4 separate regions of the Homo sapiens genome follow, and all the other regions are linked to region 1. Evidence: promoter capture Hi-C in human tissues and cell types (Jung and others, 2019). All regions are on one chromosome and are shown on one strand. Each heading gives the region's core, a stretch centred on a gene start or on the middle of the fragment in contact. The rest is flanking DNA. Distances are from core to core; before and after follow the strand shown.

What was found. The method cuts DNA at HindIII sites, captures the fragments that hold promoters and counts their contacts. A contact is called where the count stands out against the background at its distance.
Region 2: a fragment that was not itself captured here is called in contact with the fragment with the promoter of RNF183 in region 1 in 2 of the 25 tissues and cell types used here (IMR-90 fibroblasts and spleen).
Region 3: a contact is called between a fragment that was not itself captured here and the fragment with the promoter of RNF183 in region 1, in 4 of the 25 tissues and cell types used here (liver, mesendoderm cells, spleen and 1 more).
Region 4: a contact is called between a fragment that was not itself captured here and the fragment with the promoter of RNF183 in region 1, in 2 of the 25 tissues and cell types used here (IMR-90 fibroblasts and mesenchymal stem cells).

The regions. Positions count from the first base shown.
Region 1 is chr9:113,301,153-113,306,990 of GRCh38, forward strand. RNF183 (ring finger protein 183) reads right to left here and starts at 2,224. Exons shown (of 5, transcript NM_001371237.1): 1 at 1,904-2,224; 2 at 1,043-1,161; 3 at 520-599. RefSeq lists an enhancer at 4,495-4,664. The HindIII fragment of the contact is 15,296 bases long and covers 1,549-5,838 here.
Region 2 is chr9:113,471,517-113,476,650 of GRCh38, forward strand. The region is part of intron 1 of RGS3 (regulator of G protein signaling 3); the gene reads left to right. Among named protein-coding and RNA genes, the nearest start is that of RGS3, 10 kb to the left of the region's middle. The HindIII fragment of the contact is 5,234 bases long and covers 1-4,084 here.
Region 3 is chr9:113,539,632-113,545,400 of GRCh38, forward strand. All of the region lies in intron 17 of RGS3 (regulator of G protein signaling 3), which reads left to right. Among named protein-coding and RNA genes, the nearest start is that of RGS3, 79 kb to the left of the region's middle. RefSeq lists enhancers at 1,486-1,985, 2,710-3,225, 3,226-3,741. The HindIII fragment of the contact is 4,573 bases long and covers 1,060-5,632 here.
Region 4 is chr9:113,490,782-113,495,993 of GRCh38, forward strand. It overlaps RGS3 (regulator of G protein signaling 3), which reads left to right. Exons shown (of 23, transcript NM_001394167.1): 6 at 5,005-5,065. Among named protein-coding and RNA genes, the nearest start is that of RGS3, 30 kb to the left of the region's middle. The HindIII fragment of the contact is 6,530 bases long and covers 487-5,212 here.

The DNA.
Region 1 (5,838 bases), core at 974-3,473:
GCCAAAACTAGTAAAGCTTTTAGTTAGAGCCCAGCACCCAGTAAAGACCACAAAGCAATGCATGACCTAAAAATGGGACTATGTTCTCAGAAACACATCGTTGTATGAACAGCACAGAGAGTATTTACACAAACCTAGATGGTAGAGCCTGCTACATGCCTAGGCTATACGGTCTAGCCTGTTGCTCCTAGGCTACAAACCCATACAGCTTATTATGTTCTGAACACTGTAGGCAATTGTAACACAATGATAATTGCGTGTGTCTTTCAACATAAACTTAGAAAAGGCAAGGTAAATATATGGTATTATAATCTTAGGTGGCCACCATCACATATGTAATTCACTGTTGATCAAAACATTGTTATGGATATATGAGGCAGTTGAAATTATTAATGCAAATGGATTTGAGAGAAAGGAAGGGTCAAGGTTGATTTCAAAGCCGTGACAAAGTCCTCTGCATCAAGCTTTGAGAAGCCCCTGAATCCCAGAGTGTGTTAGAAGCAGATCTTTAATACTTACCAGAGGCCGTAAACTGTATGTAACCTTGACTCATCATTTCCCCCACTGGGAATCGATTCCACGGAAACCATCAAGGACTTCTGCAAAGATGTGAGTAAAGAGATGCCCATCCAGGCGCTGGTTTAACGGTGACGTATGGAGAACTACGTCATCATCCAGTAATAGGACATTGATTAAGTAGATTCTGCTCCATCCATAGGAAGAGATATTATGCAGCCTTTAATATGATGTGGTAAAACTATTAATATGGATATATACCTAGGATATAATGTCATTAAGCGAAAAAGAACCAGCAACAAAACCATATTACCATATAATCCAATTTCCAAAAGTGTGTGTGCAATGGAAAAAATGTCTGGAGAGATAAACAACCAGATATTAGCAGTGGTTATCTCTGGGGGCAAGATTATAAGTTTTTTTTTTTTTTTTAATTCTCTTACCTGAAAATTCTAACTTTACTCCATCCAGTAAGCTTGTATTACTACACGTCAAGATCTCCTGTTTCCCCCCAAATCAGACCTACCTTCTCTGAAGTTCCATGGCCAGAACTGTAAAAGGCTGTCCAAGAGGAGGAAGCATCATTATTGCCTGGATCTTTATCTGTGCTGCTCTCCCAGGGATCCACTGCTGTTTCAGGATCAGCTGGGGAGAGATTCTGGCCATGTATCACCTCCACCCCAAGCCAGGACATCTCAGCTACAGTAAATCCTAAACACCGCCCCAAAGTCATCTCCTTGGTCTATGAACAAGTCATCGCCAAATATCAATTGTCCCCAGCATCACTCCATTGTTTTCAACCAAGAACTGGCATTTCCATAGCACTTCACAGTTTACAAAGGGCCCTGGCCCTTGCTAAGATCTAAGTGTGGTGATCCATCTAGATAGGTTACTAGCCTTTTGGGATTTTTTGTTGTTGTTTGCAGAAAGCCATTTGATACTCTAAAACCACCCTGTGAGAGAGGCTGAATGGGGAGTAGAAAGGTGCCGGCTTTGGAACCAGATTTGGAACAATTTGTCTTGGACAAATGGCTTAACCTCTCTGAACTTCATTTTCCTCTGTAAAAAAGGCTAATCATCCCACTCCTACAAGGTTGCTCTGGGGAAGGAATAGTCTATACGGTGCCCAGTAGAATACGGAAGGCGCTCAATACAGAGTTAGCATGATTATTTTTAGACCCATTTTCTAGATGGGGAAGCCAAGGCTCAGAAGGGTGAGGCAACTTGCCGAAGTCTTCCCAGCTAAAGAGTGGCTGAGTTTGAAAGATGAACCCAGTAGCCTGCCCTCCCAGGCCAGAGTTCACCTGTCGCGCGCTGCACGGCTGCTGCCTCTCTGGACTCTGGAGCCCTGTGACCCGTCCCTCCGCGACCCTCTCTGTCTCCTTACCTGCTCCCTCGGAGCCGCCTCCTCCGCCTCCGTTCGTGCAGCCCTGCACGCATGTGCTTTGTTTTCTGACTTCCCAGGCCCGATTTCCAGGTAGCGTGGGTGGGTCTTATTTGCATAGGTCTTAGCAGCGTTTGGCCAGCTCTCGCTGTTTCAGGTTTTCTTCTTCCTTCTGGTGACTTTGGACCTCCTGTACACCCTGGAAGCTTTGGTTGCTTTGTCTTTCTCCTGTGAGTCACTCTGGCTTTTTCTCTGAGGGGATCAAGTGCGCTCATCCTTGCAGGCCTCTGTTCTGGGTCCGATTGATCTCCTGCCATCCCCTCGGATTCCACTGTCCTCTGTGCGCTGACCTGCCTCGACTCCTGGCTTCTGCCGAGATGGATCCTTCCCTATGCTGAGTCCCTGTAACCAAAATACAGATAGCTCTTGCAAAATACTGACAAAAGCGGCCACTAATACAGCAGAAAAATAGTCGGGAGACGGTTGAGCGTCTGCCTGAAGAGCCAGGGTTCTCAAGCAAGGCACACTTCTAGGTCAGAGTTCAGCCCTCACTGAGAATCCAAACTCCGTTTAACTACCGATGGAGACTTGAGCAAATTAATTAACTTCTGCCAGCCTCAGTTTCCTCACCTGAAAATGGCCATAATAACCTACCTACTTGATCTGTAGATTAAATGAGGTAATACGTGTCGAGATCGCGTAATAACACAGGGCCTGGCAGACAGTAACTCGCTAAATGTTAACCAGAACTATTATTGTTATAACCGGTCTGTTCACGTGGCCCATCTTTTGTTCCCGCTCAAATTCTTTTTGTACCTATGGTCCTCTTTTCTTTCTCTCTCTCTTTCTTTCTTTTTTTTTTTCTTTCTTTTTTTTTTTTTTTTTTAAGACGTAGTTTTGCTCTGTCGCCCAGGCTAGAGTGCAGTGGGGCGATACTGGCTCACTGTAACCCCCACCTCCCTGGTTCCAGCAATTCTCCTGCCACGGCCTCCCGAGTAACTGGGACTACAGGTGCGCGCTACCATGCCCGGCTAATTTTTACATTCTTAGTAGAGACAGGATTTCGCCTTGTTGGCCAGGCTGGTCTCAAACTCCTGACCTCAGGTGATCCACCTGCCTCGACCTCCCAAAGTGCTGAGATTACAGGCATGAGCCACCGCGCCTGGCCCCTTATTTCTTTACTGACATTTTCAGCCATACTTGAGAAATAAACAAGTAAATAAATGTATCTGCTTGGTGATGTAATCAAATGCCCTAGTCCCCGCATTTTGTGTTTTTTTACATTAATTTTTATGTATTGATTTATTTTGAGACAGAGTCTCACTCTATCATCCAGGCTGGGGTGCGGTGGCACGATCACAGCTCACTGCAGCCTCAACCTCCTGGGGTCAAGCAGTCTTCCCACCTCCGCCTCCTGAGTACCTAGGACTACAGGTGCATGCCACCGTGGCTGGCTAATTTTTGTATTTCTTGTAGAGATGGGGTTTCTCCAGGTTGCCTAGGCTGGTCTCAAACTCCTGGGCTCCAGCAATCCACTTGCCAAAAGTGCTAAGATTACACTTGAGCCACCGTGCCCACATTTGATTTTTAAATAGGTAATATATTTACATGGTTGAGCATGTGAATGGTTTGATTTCACAGTGAAAACTGTCTCTTCGCAGCCACCTAGTTTCCCTGGAAATCAAAGTATTATACTATCAGTTTGTTGTGTATCTTTCCAAAGATGTTTTATACATACACAAACAGCATGTCCATGGCAAAACATCTATGTATTCCTTTACCTCCTTTTTACACAAATGTGCATATTATGTACACTGTTCTGCATTTTTCTTTTTTCATTTGATGATGTATTTGAGATATCATTCTGTATTAGTACATAAAGACCTTCTTCGGTTTTTGGCCCAGCGCTGTGACTCACACCTGTAATCCCAGCACTTTGGGAGGCCAAGGCGGGTGGATCACTTGAGGTCAGGAGTTCAAGACCAGCCTGGCCAACATGGTGAAACCCCGTCTCTACTAAAAATACAAAAATTAGCCGGCGTCATGGTGCACACCTGTAGTCCCAGCTACTCAGGAGGCTGAGGCAGGAGAATCGCTTGAACCTGGGAGGCAGAGGTTGCAGTGAGCTGAGATTGTACCACTGCACTCCAGCCTGGGCGACAGAGCAAAAAAAAAAAAAGAAGACCTTCTTCGGTTTTTTAATGGTTGTATCAGATTTCATTGAATGGCTGTACCATAAATCACTTCACCAATCCCCTATTGATCTAACCCCCTCATTATAAATATATAAATATTGAATGAAAGAATAATGCAAAAATGCTGATTTTAAGTTAGCCTAGAATTGTGTGAAAATAAAACTGTGGACTTTGGGAAGTTTTAGATCTCTAAAGAAAATGTCTAAGTAATTCTCCTCTTTCTGAGCTGGAGACGAGGTATATGATCACCGATGGCCTCAAAGTTCCTCTCAGCTCTGGAATTCCCTGCTTTTCGGTGTCACTACTGGTTAACTGAGGTTACTGGGGATTCGAGACACTGATTTAGTCCAAAGAACCTGGTTTGTATTTGAGAGTTTGGAAGTCACGCTTTCTGGCTTGGCAACATAAGAAAACATAAAGAAGTTCATCTACTTTGACCTAATCATGTAATTCCCCAGAAGCATCAAAAAGATATATTTTGGTTGAGTGAGGATATTCATTGCAGTTTTATTTTAATCACAAATGATTGAAAACACTCCAAAACCCCATCAATTAGGTGAAAAACTACATAATCATTTAAAATGATATAGAAAGATTTTCATTGACTTTTAAAAATGGTCACAGTATACTGTAAATGGAGGGGGAAAGCAGCTTAAAAATGGTGCATGTTGGCCGGATACGGTGGCTTACGCCTGTAATCCCAGCACTTTGGGAGGCCGAGGCAGGCGGATCACAAGGTCAGGAGTTTGAGACCAGCCTGGCCAATATGTTGAAACCCCGTCTCTACTAAAAAATACAAAAAAAAAAAAAACTTAGCTGGGCGTGGTGGCAGGTGCCTGTAATCCCAGCTACTTGGGAGGCTAAGGAGGCAGGAGAATCGCTTGAACCTGGGAGGCGGAGGTTGCAGTGAGCCGAGATTGCACCACTGCATTCCAGCCCAGGCAACAGAGAGAGAATCCATCTCAAAAAAAACACAAACAAACAAACCAAAACCAAAACAAAACAAAACAAAAAAACGGTGCATGTTGGCTGGGCACATGCCTATAATCCCAGCACTTTGGGAGGCCGAGGTTGGAGGATTGCTTGAGCCCAGGAGTTCAAGACTAGCGACCCCATTGCTACAAAAAATAAAAAAATAAAAAATTAGCTGGGCGTGGTGGCACATGCCTGTTGTCTCAGATACTCAGAAGGCTGAAGTGGGAGGATCACTTGAGCCCAGAAAGTCAAGGCTGCAGTGAGCCCAGATTGCACCACTGCACTCTAGCCTGGGCAACAGAGCAAAGACCCTGTGAAAGATAGAAAAGAAAAAAAGAAAGAAAAGAAGAAAAGAGAGGGAGAAGGAAGGAAGGAAAGAAGAAGGAAGGAAGGGAGGGAGGGAGGAAGAAAGGAAGGGAGGGAAGGAGGAAGGAAGGAAGGGAGGGAGGGAGGGAGGGGAAGGAAAAGAAAAGAAAAGGAAAGAAAGAGAGAATGTAGCATAAGCCAGATTTTGTAAAGCATAATTTATGTATAAAGACTGCAAGACCATGAGGCAAAATGTCACAATTTTATCTCTGGGTGATGGCCACTCATGTTTTCGCTTTCTTCTTGCTTACATTTTCCAAGTTCTCAAATATGTATTACTTTTGTAGTAAGAAAGTTCACTTAGAAAGTAAGTTAAGTCTGAGTTTTCTGCAACCAGGGTATCCAGAACTTAAAAAGATAAGCAGGTAGGGCAGGTAAGAAGTCAGTCATGACATTGTAAGC
Region 2 (5,134 bases), core at 218-2,717, 170 kb after region 1:
CATCCCAGAAATGGAAGTCCCCTACATATATTTTCTAAGCTTTTTTGAGTTGGTTTTTGTTTTTTTTTCCCTCCCTTTCTGCCTCTCTCCCTCCTTTTCTCCTCCCTCCCTGCCTCTTCCGTCCCTTCCTCCCCTCCCCGCTCTCTCTCTCCGTCCCTCCTTTCTTTCTCCCTGCCTGCCTGCCTACCTGCAGTTGTCCGAGCAGGCATTACTGGGGCTGGAGGGTCCCTTTCCAAGATGGCTCATTCACATGGCTCTCAGCAGGAGGCCTCAGTTCCTTGCTACCTGTAATTAGGAGGCTTCTGTTTCTCATCGCATGGACCTCTTCGTAGGATTGCTTGAGCTTCCTTATTATGTGGCAGCTGGCTTCCTTCTAGGCAAGTGATACAAAAATGAAAGCAAGAAAGAACTCCCATAAAAAGATGAGTAACCCAGCTCAAAAATGGGTAAAGGATTTGAATAGACATTTTTTTCCAAAGAAAAATGGCTAACAGCATGTGAAAAAATGCTCAATGTCATTAGTTATCAGGGAAATGCAAATCAAAACCACAATGAGATACTATCATACTAGAATGACTATAATAAAAAAAGAGCCAATAACAGGCGTTGAAGAAGTTGAGGGGAAATTGGAACCCTTGTACACTGCCGGCCGGAATGTCAAATGGTGCAACCACTTTGGAAAAGTTTGGCGGTTCCTCAAACAATTAAATGTAGAGTTTCCATTTGACCCAGCAATTCCACTCTTAGGTATAAATCCAAGAGGAATGAAAACACATGCTCACACAAACATGTGTACACACACACATGTTCATAACGGCATTATTCATAGTAGCCAAAAAGTCGAAATAACCTGAAATATCCATCACCAGATGAGTGGATAAACAAAATGTGGTATATCCATACAATGGAATATTATTTGGCCACAAAGGGACTAAAATACTGATACGTGCTACAATATGGGTGAACCTTGAAAACATTATGCTAAGTGAAAGAAGTCAATCACAAAAGACCATGCGTTGTGTGATTCTGTTTACATAAGTATCCAGAATAGGCAAGTCCTTAGAGACAGAAAGCAGATTAGTGGTTGACAAGGGCTGAGGGGAGAAGGGAATAGGGTGTGACTGCGAAAGAGTATGGGATTTCTTTTAGGGGAGGATGAAAATGTTCTAAAATTAGATAGAGGTGATTGATTACAGAATCCTGTGAATATACTAAAAGAAAATTACATGCTTTAAATTGGTGAAGTGTGGCCGTGCACGGTGGCTCAATCCCAGCACTTTGGGAGGCTGAGGCGGGTGGATCATCTAAGGTCAGGAGTTCGAGAGCAGCCTGGCCAACATGGTGAAACTCTGTCTCTACAAAAAATACAAAAAATTGGCCAGGTGTGGGTGGTGCATGCCTGTAATCCCAGCTACTCAGGAGGCTGAGACAGGAGAATAATTTGAACCTGGGAGGCAGAGGTTACAGTGAGCTGAGATCATGTCATTGCACTCCAGCCTGGGCGACAGAGTGAGACTCCATCTCAATAATAAACAAAACTGATGAAATGTATGATATGTTAATTATATCCCAATACAGCTGTTAAAAAAAGAAGGAACTAATAATACCTTTAATATCCTAATGTTGAAAGTCATCCACTGTCATTTCTACCACATTCTATTTGTTAGAAGCAAGTCACTAAGTCCAGCCCATGTCTGAAGGGAGGAACTAGGCTTCACCTCTTGAAAGGAAGAGTATCAAAGACTTTGTGGACAAATTTTAAACCCATGATAGGTATAGAGAGGCTAACAGTGGGGGCCCTGGACTGCCTAAATGCAAACCCCAGCTCTGCCACTTACTGGCTGTGTGATTTGGACAACCTGTTTTAGCTATTTTCTTTTTTTTGAGTTGGGGTCTCACTCTGTTGCCCAGGCTGGAGTGCAGTGGTGTGATCATGGCTCACTACAGCCTCAACCTCCTGGGCTCCAGTGATCCTCCCACCTCAGCCTCCTGAGTAGCTGGGACTACAGGTACACACCACCACGTCCGGCTAATTTTAAAAAAACGTTTTTGGAGAGACAGAGTCTTGCTATGTTGCCTAGACTGGTCTCAAACTCCTGGCCTCAAGTGATCATCCTGCCTCAGCCTCCCAAAGTGTTGGGATTACAGGTGTGAGCCACCATGCCCAGCCAACCTGTTTACCTCTTAATAATCTTCAGCTTCCTTGCCTGTAAATTGGGATAAAAGTAGTAACCATTTCACGGAGTTATTGTGAGGAGTAAAAGAAATAAAAAGCTTATAGTAAAGTGCTGAGTACCTAGTAAACATCTAAGAAACATTGACTTTGTTCTCTCCATGTGTGTGCCTAGCCTGGTAGTTCACTATGGCCCTGAACTCTGGGTTGAGATGTGTGTGAATCCTGTAGGATGTTTGGATCTGAGCCCCACAGGACTGCTAGTGGTGTTATGATCCAGCCAAGATTAGATGCTGACTGCAGTAGATTCAGGAGTTTTATTTTACCAGCTTGCCCAGGACGGACCTAGAATCCCTTGTGAGTGATCCATGGGAATCTAAATTATCAAGAGACTGAATGCTAATTTATTAGTTTATGCTGAAAAATAGAATTTCTGAGTAGACTAGAAGACTTATGCTGGCCGGAGCAATCTCTTTCTGTAAGGAAAAAGAGCTTGGGAAACTACATTAATATCAGCTTTCACAGGAAGCAGAGAGGCCAGGGGATTGAACTGACCCATCACAATTTTTATGCCAGTGCTGTGTGTCCTATGTCCTCACCTTCGCAAACCAGGGCCACTTTTTTGAATGGAACTCAGGGTTCTCCTTCTTTTAACACAGTAGCCATGGGAAATTCTCCTGGGTTATGTCCATAGAGCTGTGTGGCTGCCTGTTTCCCAGCGCCACTGCAGCCTACCATTTCTCCCTTAGATCAAGCAGGCAGTGAAATTGGTAAACACATGCTTAACCATTTCTGAGCCTGGATCAGGGCTGGGGTGTGGATGAGGCAGCTGAAGACCACAGAGAGAGGGCGTGCCTGGCATCTGGCTGGGCACCCTCCCTCCTGCGAGGAAGACTTGAGTACAGACGTGTCCTCATAAACGGAGGGGAAATCTGTGGATGTTAGCGGCTGGCTAGGCTCCATGTAGACCCAACTGCCTTCATATGTTTGTCTGGATATCATCACCCTTCCTGTAGCTTTTAACATGTGACAGTTCTTAAATGGGCAGCGGCTTCTGGGGTGAATTGGATTTTAGGATGCCTGCTGCTTCATGCTAGCCAGGCAAGTCCATCATAGATGTATTCTCTGCACATCTCAGGGTGGCATGGGCTCCCACTGGGACACATTCCGGCTGATCCCTGAGTCTAGCAAAGGTGTGCAGTCCCCATCTACTTCCTTTATTTTCTGAGTATGTCTCTTTCTGACTGTGGCCTGTGGGTTAGAGTTCATCTGTGGTTCTCTACTGAGTATTGTCTGCCAGACTGAATTTCTTTAGCTGGTGTCCACATCCATTTAAAAGTGCCCAGTAAGTCTGAGCCCTTCAAGTCCTGTGCCCAGCAGAATTTGGGTTTGTTGCCTTTTCCAGGCTTTCTGAAGCTCATTCCCATCCAGTATTTTTCCTGCCATATGGGGCCCTGTCTATTCTCCCTTTGGCTCTGGGCCCTGGTACACACTTGCAGCCTCTCTGGGCATCCATCACCACCACCTTTTGCACATAGTGTTGGTGCCCAACTGCGATCTCATGGGAACAGGGGACATGCCCTGTCCAAAGGCCCTGCCCAACCTCGATGAGGATGACTTCAAGCCCTTTAGCCTGACTGCTCCCTGAGTCTAGGGAGGAATGGGGAGTGTTGAAAAAAACAGAGGTGTAGGAGCAAGAATATTATTGGGAAAAGTTTTAGGTTTTTGTTTTTTGAGACAGGGTCTGGCTCTATCATCCAGGCTGGAGTACAGTCGTGCAATCATAGCTCACTACAACTTCAACCTCTTGGGCTCAAGGAATCCTCCTGCCTCAACCTCCCAAGTAGCTGAGACTACAGGCACGCACCACGGTGCCCGGCTATTTTTTTAATTAATTTTTTGTAGAGAAGGGCTCTTGCTGTATTGTCCAGGTTGGTGTCAAACTCCTGGACTCAAGCAATCCTCCCACCTCAGCCTCCCAAAGTGCTGGGATTACAGGCATGAGCGACCACACCCCACAAAGACAAGTTTTTAAAGGAACAAGCAAATTTCAGAACAATACATAGGGTATGTATCTGTGGAGGGAGGTTGGGTGGGGGGGGTGTTCTGAAAGGATGCCAAATTAGCTGGTGCTTCGGTGAGCTGAAGACTCCAGGGATTCAGCCCTACTTCCCCTTCACCTGGAGGTTTCTTTCTCTAGATTGGAGACATTTCTAGGAGGCTGCCCTCTATTTTTTTTCTTTTTCTTTTTTTTCCTTTGAGACAGGTCTCACGCTGTTCCCCAAGGTCCAGGCTGGAGTTGCAGTGGTGTGATCATGGTTCACTGTGGGCTCAACCTCCTGGATTCAAGTGGTCCTCCCACCTCAGCCTCCCAAGCAGCTGGGACTATAGGATGTGCCACTATGCTCAGCTAACCTCTTGGTTTCTTGAGAAAAGCTGTGGCACCTGGTGCTGTCCCCGATGGTTCTCTCTACCTCTGAATCTGAAGGTTGTGTTGGCAAACGCAGTGGGCACAGCAGAGGAGGTGCGTGCTAGAGGGCTGTGGGTGTTCCAGAAGACTGTGCACAGGAAAGAGTGCTGGAGTGGGGGTAGAGTTCTAATCTCCAGCTCTGGATTCTCTGGGCCCAGAGCAAATCACCTTCCATCTCAGGCATGACCGTTCTGGCTACAAAATGAGGAGACTGGACAAGATGACTTCAGGGGCCTGTGTGTCAGACATTTGGTGGAGTAGCATGATGGGGGGAAGGAGGGGACAGGCATGGCCGAGGGAGGGATCTTGTGAACTGGGGCAGGTGTGTCCTGGCCTGGGGAGCCTGGAGTCTGGTCTGCTGGGTTTGGTTTCTCTGCTGTAACAGGGTACAGGGCACCCTGGCCTTCCTGAGAAGCCCCTGGCTGGCAGGGCCTGGAACGGGAGCAGTGCAGTGTGGTGCAAACTCATCTCAATCCCGAGTCAGCCTTTGC
Region 3 (5,769 bases), core at 2,096-4,595, 240 kb after region 1:
CCCACCCCACCCCTGCACCACCCAAATGCCTCTCTGGGAAAAGGGGGTTTGTAAGGCAACTCCCCAAACTCCCATGCTCTTTTCAAGAGTGTCTGCTGACACCCAGATGTGGGGGATTCTTTAAATGTCTTAAGGAATGTAAAGCTCTTCCCAAATTCACAAAACGTAATAAGTGCAATTTACCTTGAAGATGAAATATATGCTTGTTGGGAAGGTAGAGGGAGTCAGGGGAAGATGGACTTAAAGAACAGTTGGGAGGTCACTCCCTTGCTGTGGGACCTTCAGCAGCCGCTGGCTGCTGTGGTGTCAGTAGTCCCATCTGGGCACTGGGCCCGTGGCTCTTTCTATCTCTCCAAGCTTTGTGATTTTCGTGAAAGCTGAGGGCCGGGGGCCATCTAGTATCCATTTTTTGTAGAAATAAATGAACTACTTTCTCTCTTGTCTCAACTTCCTACTCCTGTTCATCACCCGCTCCTTCCTTTTCAGAGCTCTGCCCCTCTGTTGCTTCATTATCTGTAGCTGGGGGGCGCCTACCTTTCTTCTTCTGCCTGGGAATCCTTGTACTAAACTCCCTGCATGGGGACTGCTGCGAGGCTTCTAATCTAGAATAACTCAGAGCTGGGCCCACCTGTGGCCATTCAGGTTCTAAGCTAGAAGGGAGAGACAATTATATATTCTTTTGATTATTCAAGCAAATATACATAATAAATGCCTTCTCAGTGCCAGATACTGGTTTAGATCCTTTGGGATCACAGAGATGAATGAGACCTGGTCCCTGTCGCTATGGAATTCTCCTAATAGGAGAGAGATGAGGAGGGCACTGGAGTGGTGATCTAAGCATGAAAGCCATGCTTGCGGGTCCTAAGAAGGATCCAGTGGGGTCCTGGCTATCCAAGCATCATCCGTGCCGTGAGCCTCCTGCTCAGTACCCTTCATGTGCCTGGTGCTGGGCTGGGCTCCAGGAAGCCTTCTGAGAAGCATGGAAACCAAGCCTTTAGGATGAGAAGGGCAGACACAGTGCAGTGGGGCCTGGCCCCATTCTCAGGGCAGGTCCTGTGCTCCACGGGGAGGGACGCACAGAGCAATCCATCACCCCCTTTCCTCGGGAGATCACAGTCTGGTGGCAGAGACAGACATGACAGATAGTTCAAAGTAACACAGTAAGCAATGTGACCTCAGGTGAGCCAGTTAGCCTCTCTGAGACTCAGTTTTTGCATCAGTAAAGTGGATGGATTAAGAGGCTTCTTGTGAGGATTGAACTCAGGATGTGCTTTGCAAAGTGGCATGCAAGAGGAGCTCTGAACTAGCCGCTATCGTTCTCACTGTCATGGTTTTAAAGTGCTGTCCATATGGGAAGATTCATCGGGGGCCTTGTTCATTGAAGCTGCTGCTGGTGCTCGGAGCACATATGACAACTGCTCCATGTCACTTCCTGGTAGACATCTGCCATATTCCAGGGGCCCAGGCAGGGAAACTGAGGCCTCCTTGTCTGCTCTGGCTCTAAGACTTCTCCCAGATGTGACGGTGAGGTGCGTGCCACCTTGTCATCTCCACTGGGGCCACTAGAGACAGCCCTGGAGATGCCAGGGTGTGTGAGTGCCTTAGAAAGGAACAGAGGCAGGTCCTGCAGTCAGGCAGCCCGGCCTGAGTAGACAGCGAGCTAATTCCAGTTCTGTCTGGTTCCACAGAAACTCCACCCTTTCGGCTCTCTCCAGCAGGAGATGGGGCCGGTCAACTCAACCAATGCCACCCAGGATAGAAGCTTTACCTCACCAGGACAGACTCTGATTGGCTGAGCAAACCCAAGGGCGGGACTCTGCTTCTGGCAACTTAACCCTTTCTTGGGCATCCCCTACCACACAGTAACCTCACCTCAACTGGACCTGAAACAGAGGACCAAGATGGTGGGTCTAGGGTCATCTGAAGGGAGTGGTCCCAAGGGTGCATGTGGATGTCAACAGAAGGACCACAATGGTGTGAGAGGCCTTGTGGGCATGCAGAGACTGGCAGCAGAAAGTCCCAAGAGGAGAGGACTCAGAGGCTTCTTCCTTCCAAGGAGGAGGAGGAGGAGGACATTCCACATCTGGGCTTCCAGTGGTGGCTCCCGGACCTGCCTTGGGGGCAGCAGGAGAGGTTGGGAGAGGTCACCCTGATGAAGAACAATGCCATGATCTGCTGCTGCCAGAGGACATCTCCGCCCATCCACTCATTTTCCACCTGTACACATTGGCTCATTCATTCGATGGATATTTCGGGTGCATCTACTTTATGCCAGGCTCTATGCTAGGAGCTGGGGATACTGTGGAGAAAAAGTCGGATATGGTCTCGCTCTCATCAAGATTTCAGTCTAGCTGGGAGTGAGCGTTAAATAAGTCAATACCAACACACACACGTGCACACACGTGATGGCAAGCTGTGATCATCTATGAAAGAAAAAACACAGATTTCTTTAAGAGGGAATTGTACTTAGAGTGCTGTGTGTGGGGGTGGGGATGGGGAAGGACATAACTTTTAAACCGAGACTTGTGGGCTGGAGAGGAAGGAGCCAGTCCTGGACTTGGGGAAGAGTGTTCGCGGTGGATGGAATAGCACGTGGAGAGTCCCTGAGATGGGAAGGAGCTCAGTGGGCTGGAGGAATGGCGAGCAGGCCAGTGTGGCTGGAGCTTAGTGAGGTGCAAGACACAGTGGGTGAGGTAGTTGATGTCTTGTTGATTTCATTCTAGATACACTGGAGAGCCATTGAAGGCTTTTGAGGAAGGGAGTTGCAAGTACATTTTTACAAGATCCGTTTACACATAGGAGGGGCCCAAGTGGGTGTGAGATCAGTTAGGGGGCTCGTTCAGTTCTCTAGGTGAGGACTGTCCTGGTGGCTTGTCCTGGATGGTGGCTGGGGAAGTGGATGCCTGAATGCCAGGCTCTGGAGAAGAGATGACTCCCTGCCCCATCCCCCTGCCTACCCTCCTCCTCAATGGCCCCTCTCTCAGTGGATGTGAGTGAGGATTAGGACCTTCCCCACAGAGCCACCTTTTGGCCAGGCCTCGTGGGGGATAGTGGGGGCAGTGCTGAGTTCTAGGAGTGTTCCTGGAAGTTGGGGGCAGTGAGTGCTCAGCCTGGCCCAGGTGGGAGAGTTCACTGCTGCCCAGGCCTTAGCAGGGGCTGCTGTGCTGTCTTTCTGTCCCATGCTGAGCATTGTGATAGGAAGCTGCCACACAGTGCCCTGGAAACTGACTTCGCATGCTTTCCATGGGGCTTCCGAGGGCCAGGGACTGGGCTGGGGGTGGCCTAGCAGCTCTAGTGGAGACTGTGCTGCCGCAGGGCTGAAGGAAGACCAACCAAGGGGACAGCCGTTTGAGCCCAGCCCACTCACTGCCTGCTGCACCTCCAGCTGGAGCCCAGGGTTGGGCAGCTCTCATACTCTTATCTAACTGCCAGACCTAGAGGGAGGGAAGCCCAAGGCTGCAGGTCTGAGGGACACGGCTCATGGGCAAAAGGGTATCAAGAGGATTAGAGTCACTTGCATAGGAAAAGAGGGTCAGAGAGGCTGAGGGCTGGCTGAGGCCAGAGAGGTTCCCTGACCTTGGACATTCTTTGTGTTGTGTAAGACCTCGGCATCTTTAGAGAAAGGTTCTTGTGCCCCTGTGAGCTTGCTCAGCTGCTATGGCCACTTGAACCCCAAAAATGGTGGCCTAGAAGAGAATACACCCCTTACTTCCCACTTATCCTCCTCTCAACCTAGGAAAGATCAGACATATTGACTCAACAGTCTAACAGGGGATGGGCTGGATCTGCCCGTGACCAGACCAATGCCCCCCACCCAGCAAGGGAGTAAACGCTGCCTGAAGTGGGACCAGTGATACACAGCATCTCTGTCTGCCAGGGCTCAGCCCGCGGGGGGGATTTGTGAGAGGCTGAGCAGCTGGGTCTGCACAGACAGCAAGCTGCACTTTGATTTCATTTGATTCCCTTACAAAATGACATTAAGGGGAATGTGAGGCACAGGAGACTCGCCTGTCTGGGAAGGCAGCAAGCTCATCTCTCCTGGACCTGGTGACCTACCTCTGTCTACCAGACAGGTGCAGAGGACAGGAGCTCTGGCCACAAAGAAATGGACAGTCTGAATGCAGCACACAGCCCTGGGGACAGGACTTTTCACCCAGCCTGTCCTGACAAGCTGCTGAGTCGAGCAGATGCTCACATCAGGGTCCCAGGTCCGGCTGTTAGGGAAGTGGACATCAGTTCCTGGTGGGCCCTGGGCAGTGACTGTGGTGAGCCACAGCACCATTGCTGCTCTGCCTCTCAAATCGATCGAACAATTAATTTGGCTCCACAGGCTCGAGAAGATGAAACATGACCTGATGGCCACTGCTGTCCAGCATCCCAGTCCATCCTAGCTGTCCAGGATGATGAACAAGCTATGGAAATTGCACTTGAGAGCTATAATCACGGGAAGCATTGCCGAGCCCCTCCCTGCTACATAAATCATGCTAAGAAGCACACAATGGCCTCTTTCCTGATGGGCTAATTGTCTTGGTTTGGTGTCTCAGGCCCAGGAGCTGGGAAGATGGGAGCACAACCATTTATTGTTGGAAAGACCATCTGTGCAACTTGAATACAAAGTGATTCTTTTAGTTCCCCACACACCCCCGACCCTCTGATCCCATTTTCATGTTTTTTTTTTTTTTTTCTTTTTATGTCTCAGGCTCTGGTTCTTTTAAAACTCTTCATCTATCCTGTAAGCCATCAGGCCTGGATCTCTGCTGGCCTGGGTCTTTTGGCTATTTGGGGGTTGGGACATTGCAGACCTTTTGGAAATAATGACATTTATTTATATATGTCTTATATTTTTATTCTTTATTTTTCCCCATAAATTCTATTACCAAAGTCCTCATTTGTCACACATGGCACCAAGGCACCAAGAGGGTTTTTGCAAAGTGAAAATGCAGGCAATTTTGCAACGTGGAAGGGCTCCCCACAGCGAAAGTCCCACAGTGAGAGCCTAAACTTTGGAGATGGCAACTGGGGTCCCCAGGCATGATCTCCCCCCAGCCTCCCAGCAGCCTTGTTTTATGGATGAAAGACACCAAGGCTCTGAGAAGTTAAGTGTTTTATCCTAGGTCACACAGCTGGTAAGGGCCAAGCTTGCCCTCAAGCCAAGGCCTTTGAACCTAATCTACCACTCATTTCTGATAAAAAGGTTTGTCTTTTAGGGATAGAAGTAAGAGAAATCAATAATCTCCAGGAAGAGGCAAGAGAGGGATATCCGGCATGTCAGAAGCTGTGGCCCATCAAGCTGTAGAGGGAATGCTTTTAGGATAAATAAAATGAGATGCCTTATTTTCCACCCAGTGGAGAATAAACTTCCAGAATGCATTTTCCTGAGGGTGGCACAGGCTGAAAAGATCAATAGCTTCCCACAAGATTTGAAAAAAGCCTAAAATGAGAGATCAGTTTGAGCTCCTTAAGACAGGTTCTCAGGGAGCTCTGGAATGGTTAGGTTACACCCCTTCCCCTTTTGAATTTGGCATCAAAAGGATCAGCAGACAGAGTCATGGAGTGCTTGGCAGTGATGGAATATTAGCCAAAGGCAGAGAGGTATAGCTTCAGGCTCAGGCTGGCTTGTGCCCAGCGTAAGTACTGGAAGGAGGCCTTTGACCTGAGACCAGCTGAGGGCACAGAGAGGGCCTGCCCATGTGGAACCTGCCAGGTTTTGTGCGCAGATTTTGCTAATTGACTGATTTAGTATCTCAGCCCTGAATAAAGGGGAATCAA
Region 4 (5,212 bases), core at 2,502-5,001, 190 kb after region 1:
TAATTATATATCGTTATATATAATTATATATAACAATTATAATTATATCAGTATATATAATTATATATAACCTAATTATAATTATATATCAGTATATATAATTATATATAACCTAATTATAATTATATATCAGTATATATAATTATATATAACCTAATTATAATTATATATCGGTATATATAATTATATATAACTTAATTATTATATATTGGTATATATAATTATATGTAACGTAATTATTATATATTGGTATATATAATTATATATAACTTAATTATAATTATATATTGGTATATATAATTATACATAACTTAATTATAATTATATATGAGCATATAGAAATTATATATACTAATATATAATTATTTATATATTATATATATTCTTTATATATTATTATATATTAATTATATGTAAACATTATTTATATATGTAATTAAAGAATGTTATATATATGTAATTAAAGGGCATAATCTTTTTTTAAAGTAATTTTTTTTTCTTTTTTTTTGAGATGGAGTTTCACTCTTGTGCATAATCTCAGCTCACTGCAAACTCTGTCTCCCAGGTAGCGATTCTCTGGCCTCAGCCTCCCAAGTAGCTGGCACTCTGCAGGCGCATGCCACCATGCCCAGCTGATTTTTGTATTTTTAGTAGAGATGGGGTTTCACCATGTTGGCCAGGCTGGTCTCCATCTCCTGACCTCAGGTGATCCACCCGCCTTGGCCTCCCAAAGTGCTGACATTACAGCCATGAGCCACCGTGCCCAGGCAAGGACATAATCTTTTTTTTTTGAGATGAAGTCTCTCTCTGTTACCCAGGCTGGAGTGGAATGGCGCGATCTCACCTCACTGAAACCTCCACCTCCTGGATTCAAGTGATTCTTCTGCCTCAGCCTTCCAAGTAGCTGGGATTACAGGCGCATGCCACCACGCTTGGCTAATTTTGTATTTTTAGTAGAGACAGGGTTTCACCATGTTGGCCAGACTGATCTCAAACTCCTGACCTCAAGTGATCTGCCTGCCTTGGCCTCCCAAAGTGCTGGGATTACAGGCGTGAGCCACTGCGCCCAGCCAGGGCATAATCTTTTATACTAATAGTAGGTACATTTAGGGAGATTCTACTTGTGATTTGCCCTGCACTGTCCCAGGCACTGTAAGTGTATGCTCTCCTTTAATCTGTTTTATAAATGAGATCTCAGTGCCAAGTACAGTGGCCTAACGTCAGAAAGCTTGTGACCAGTGATGGGTACTGAGCTTAAGGAAAAAGTGAATGGAAAAATCTAAGTTCAATTTAAGTCATCAAATTAAATATAAATTAGGATTAAATGGTATAACCCTGTAACAGAAATAATTTACCTGAGAGGGAGAACTAAAGTGCATTTCCTCAAAAAATAATCTATTTTTTCATCTTGTAATGAGTCTGCAACCCTATGCTCAAAAGTAAACTGAATACTATTCCCCATATGTGCTGCATGAAGTTACTTCAAAGCCTTTGTAACGGCTGTTCCCTCTGCCCAAAATGCTCTTCATTCTCTCTGGCTCAGTTCATAGGTCTTCTTCCAGCCTGTGAGCCCTAAACTACCTCTTGTGTCCCCGAGCCTTCAGAATTTGTTGCCTGCACTGTTCATCTGTCAATCGCACCCTGTCTTGTGACATCCCCTGTATTGCTGTCTTGAACTGCTATTTAAATTCCTGGATGTTTGTGTTGTTTCCTTAACGCTGTGGCTCCTTGCCCAGTGCCTGCCAACCGTGGACGTGATGGATTCATCCATTTGTCAAGCCTTCACTAAGTGCACCAAGCCTGGAGCTCAGGGACTGGTAGTCAGAATTAACCAAGGCTTGGTTCCGGAGACTTTGCATCTAGTGAGAGTTCAGGCACTCCCGAGGGTGAGCGCTAGTTCCCAAGTTTATAAACTGACTGCTGTATTGTCATATACTCAGGTTGCTTTAAAAGAAGTCTTTCTTCCTCCAAAGATTTTTCAAAAGCAGGCATAAGAAATAGCTAATTGAAGAACACTTAGAGAGAGGTTCCTGCTTATGGACATTAATTGTGGCAATTTACGCTGCCTGAGTTACCATGAAAGCATGGGAGGCCCCTTAGCAGGAAGTAAAACTCGAGGGAGGCTATTAACCATTTAACATTCTCTAAACACCAGGGAATGAAGATTTCGCTTAGTGAAGAGCAGAGAGAGGTTGCTGAGCTAATGCATTGGCCTGGAGACTTTGAAAGTTTCAGCCCTACCCAGTAGGAAAGAAGTGTACAACAGAGTAGTATGGGCACCTGGATAGCAGCTGGAGTTCTCTTGAATGTGTGACAAATAAAATGAAATTGGTATGAGGACTTTGGCAAAGTCTTGCCAAGGCTTTTCTGGAATGGCAGCTCAGATTAGTTTTGGCTGTTTATGATAGTCACTGCAACTGCCTCCTATTAGTGCTGACTTGGCTACTTCCCAAGGGGGAGGAGTATTTGTTTTTGGTGGTGGGCTGGGGAGGTGGATGTGGAAGGGCACTTTATTGGGGTGAGAGCATTGTCCTTTTTGAATAGATTATTAATAGAGCCTTGGATGATGAGAGAGGCAAGGAAGAAGGCAGCAGATGGAGCCAAGGCTGAAGGAGCTGGGAGCAGGAGTGATGAACTGAGAGCAGCTGTTGAGAGACAGCCAGAAGCAGGGGCCTCAGCTCTGGGCCATGGGGCAGAGCATGGGTTTGCAGGCAGGTGGACCAGTTTTGAGGAGCAATCCCCCAGCATCCTGCCTCCCCACCCCTCGCTTGACTTGGCTGCCTGTGAGAAGCTAGTTTTGTTTTGCTTAGGACTGTCCGGTGGTAAGCTGCCACGCTTTCTGGAGAATCTGAACAATATGTCTTTTTTGAGACCTTCTAGATCACTGGTCTTTGACTGGGGCAGGCATAAGTGGGTGCTTGGCAGGATACCCTGGAGAGCTTTCTCCAGGCTCCCATGCTCGAACCCCACCTTGGACCAACTAATTTTGGGTTCTCAGGAAGAAGTCCTGGAGCATATACCTCAGACAGGCTGTTCAGGTGGTTTTGTGGTACACTTCTGGATAGAACCACTGCTCTAGCTCAGGCCCCCTTAGACCAGGTTTTGGAAAACACATCTCTAGGGAGTTTACTACCTATCCAGAAGCCTGTTCCATCTTTGGTTTTGATATTGTGCCTTCCATAGGACATGCCAAATCTCTCAGCTATGTGGGTCCTTCAGCTATTGAAGCCAGCCTCCAGGGTTATGCTCCAGCCTAAATATCCACGATGTTTCTTGATTAATAGTTATTAAACCAACCTATGAATTAGTCCAAGTTGAGGATGGGGTAAGAGAGAGGAGAACAGAAAGATGACATTAAAAAAAAACTCTTACTGTCAGGATAGAACAGGATGTGGCACAATAAAAGTCCTTAAAAGTATATTGATACTGTCTTTTTTTTTCTCCTGATTATAAAAACGATACTTGTTCCCTATGCAAACAGTGAAAACCCATAAAGGAAAATTAAACCCCTAGTAATCCCACCTACCAGATATGACCATTGTTAGTATTTTTGTGGGTGTCTTTCTCATTAAACTCACATTACTCATTAAATTTACAGCTTTGTAAACTTCTTTTTCTCTAACAATATCAAGATATTTTTGGACTTTATTAATATTAACTGATGTTATCATTATTATTTTTTTGAGACAGTGTCTTGCTCTGTTGCTGCAACTGCCTCCTGTTAGTGCTGACTTGGCCACTTCCCAAGAGGGAGGAACAGTAACACACAATCACAGTTCACTGCAGCTTTGACCTCCCAGGCTCAAGTGATCCTCCTACCTCAGCCTCCTCAGTAGCTGGGGCTACAGGCTCATGCCACCATGCCCTGCTATTTTAAAAATTTTTTGTAGAGATGGTGTCTCCCTTTGTTGTCCAGGCTGGTCTCAAACTCCTGGGCTCAAGTGATGCCTTCCAAAGTGCTGGATTACAGGTGTGAGCCACTGCACCTGGCCCATGCCATCATTATTAAAAGCTGCCAACTCTTAGTCCCTGATTATTGGACATTGAGCCTCAATGGTGGACATTCTTCAGGAACTCTGAATTCTTCTTCTTCTTCTTCTTCTTTTTTTTTGAGATGGAGTCTTGGCTCTGTCACCCAGGCTGCAGTGCAGTGGTGCGATCTTGGCTCACTGCAACTCCACCTCCTGGTTTCAAGTGACTCTCCTGCCTCAGCCTCCTGAGTAGCTAGGATTATAAGCATGCACCACCACGTAGGGCTAATTTTTGTATTTTTAGTAGAGACAGGGTTTCACCATGTTGGCCAGGCTGTTCTCAAACTCCTGACCTCAAGTGATCTGCCTGCCTGTGCCTCCCAAAGTGCTGGCATTACAGGCGTGAGCCACCGTGCCCAGCTGTGAATTCTTTTTAACCAAGAAGATTGAATTTAGCCCCTCGCCATAGTCTGACATCCCCATGAGGCCTGACCCTGGCCCATGCCTACCTGCCCTGCTGGTGGCCAGGTCAGATTGGTCTCAGCAGCTTTTGTGTCAGGTTGGTTTGGACCTTGATCTGTAGCCATCTAAGAACTGCTCAGCTCCTTCCTGGACCTGAGATAGAACTTCTTGAGCTTGAGGTCCCATAACTGTTCTCCTCCACTGAGCATCACCAATGATGTGGGCAAGGAGGTTCCCTGTGGGGACCAGCTCTTCAGATCTACCTAGCACCAGAACGGTTAAAACTCATGAAGTACCGCTGAGCTTCTGTGTTTGGTAGAGGCAGTGCTGAACTTGTCCTGTGACCTTGGGAAAGGGACCAACTCTGAGTCTCCATTTTTCCCTCTGTAAAATGGAGATAATAGCTCCTCTCTATCCTGCCTCACAGAGTCAGAAGGATCAAACGAGATGATGTGGGTAAAAAGCTTTGTAAACCACAGTGCATCAGGCAAACCCATGCTATACTTGATAATGGACCTCCCGATAGAGCCCAGAAAAAAAATGCTGACTCAAGTCTCACTTGTTCTCCCAGACAGAGTGGACTCATTGGCTGCATGAGCTTTGGGGTGAAGTCTCTCCTGACTCCAGACAAGGTGGGTCCTAGGGATGCTTCTGTCAGGATCATCCCAACTGGGCCGGGGCTGGTACAGGCAGAGTTTCTCTGTCAGCTCTTGGGCAGGGCTTCTCTCTGTGAGATGGTGCCCCACTGAGACAGGTGCCCTGTGGGGTGGCCTGCATAG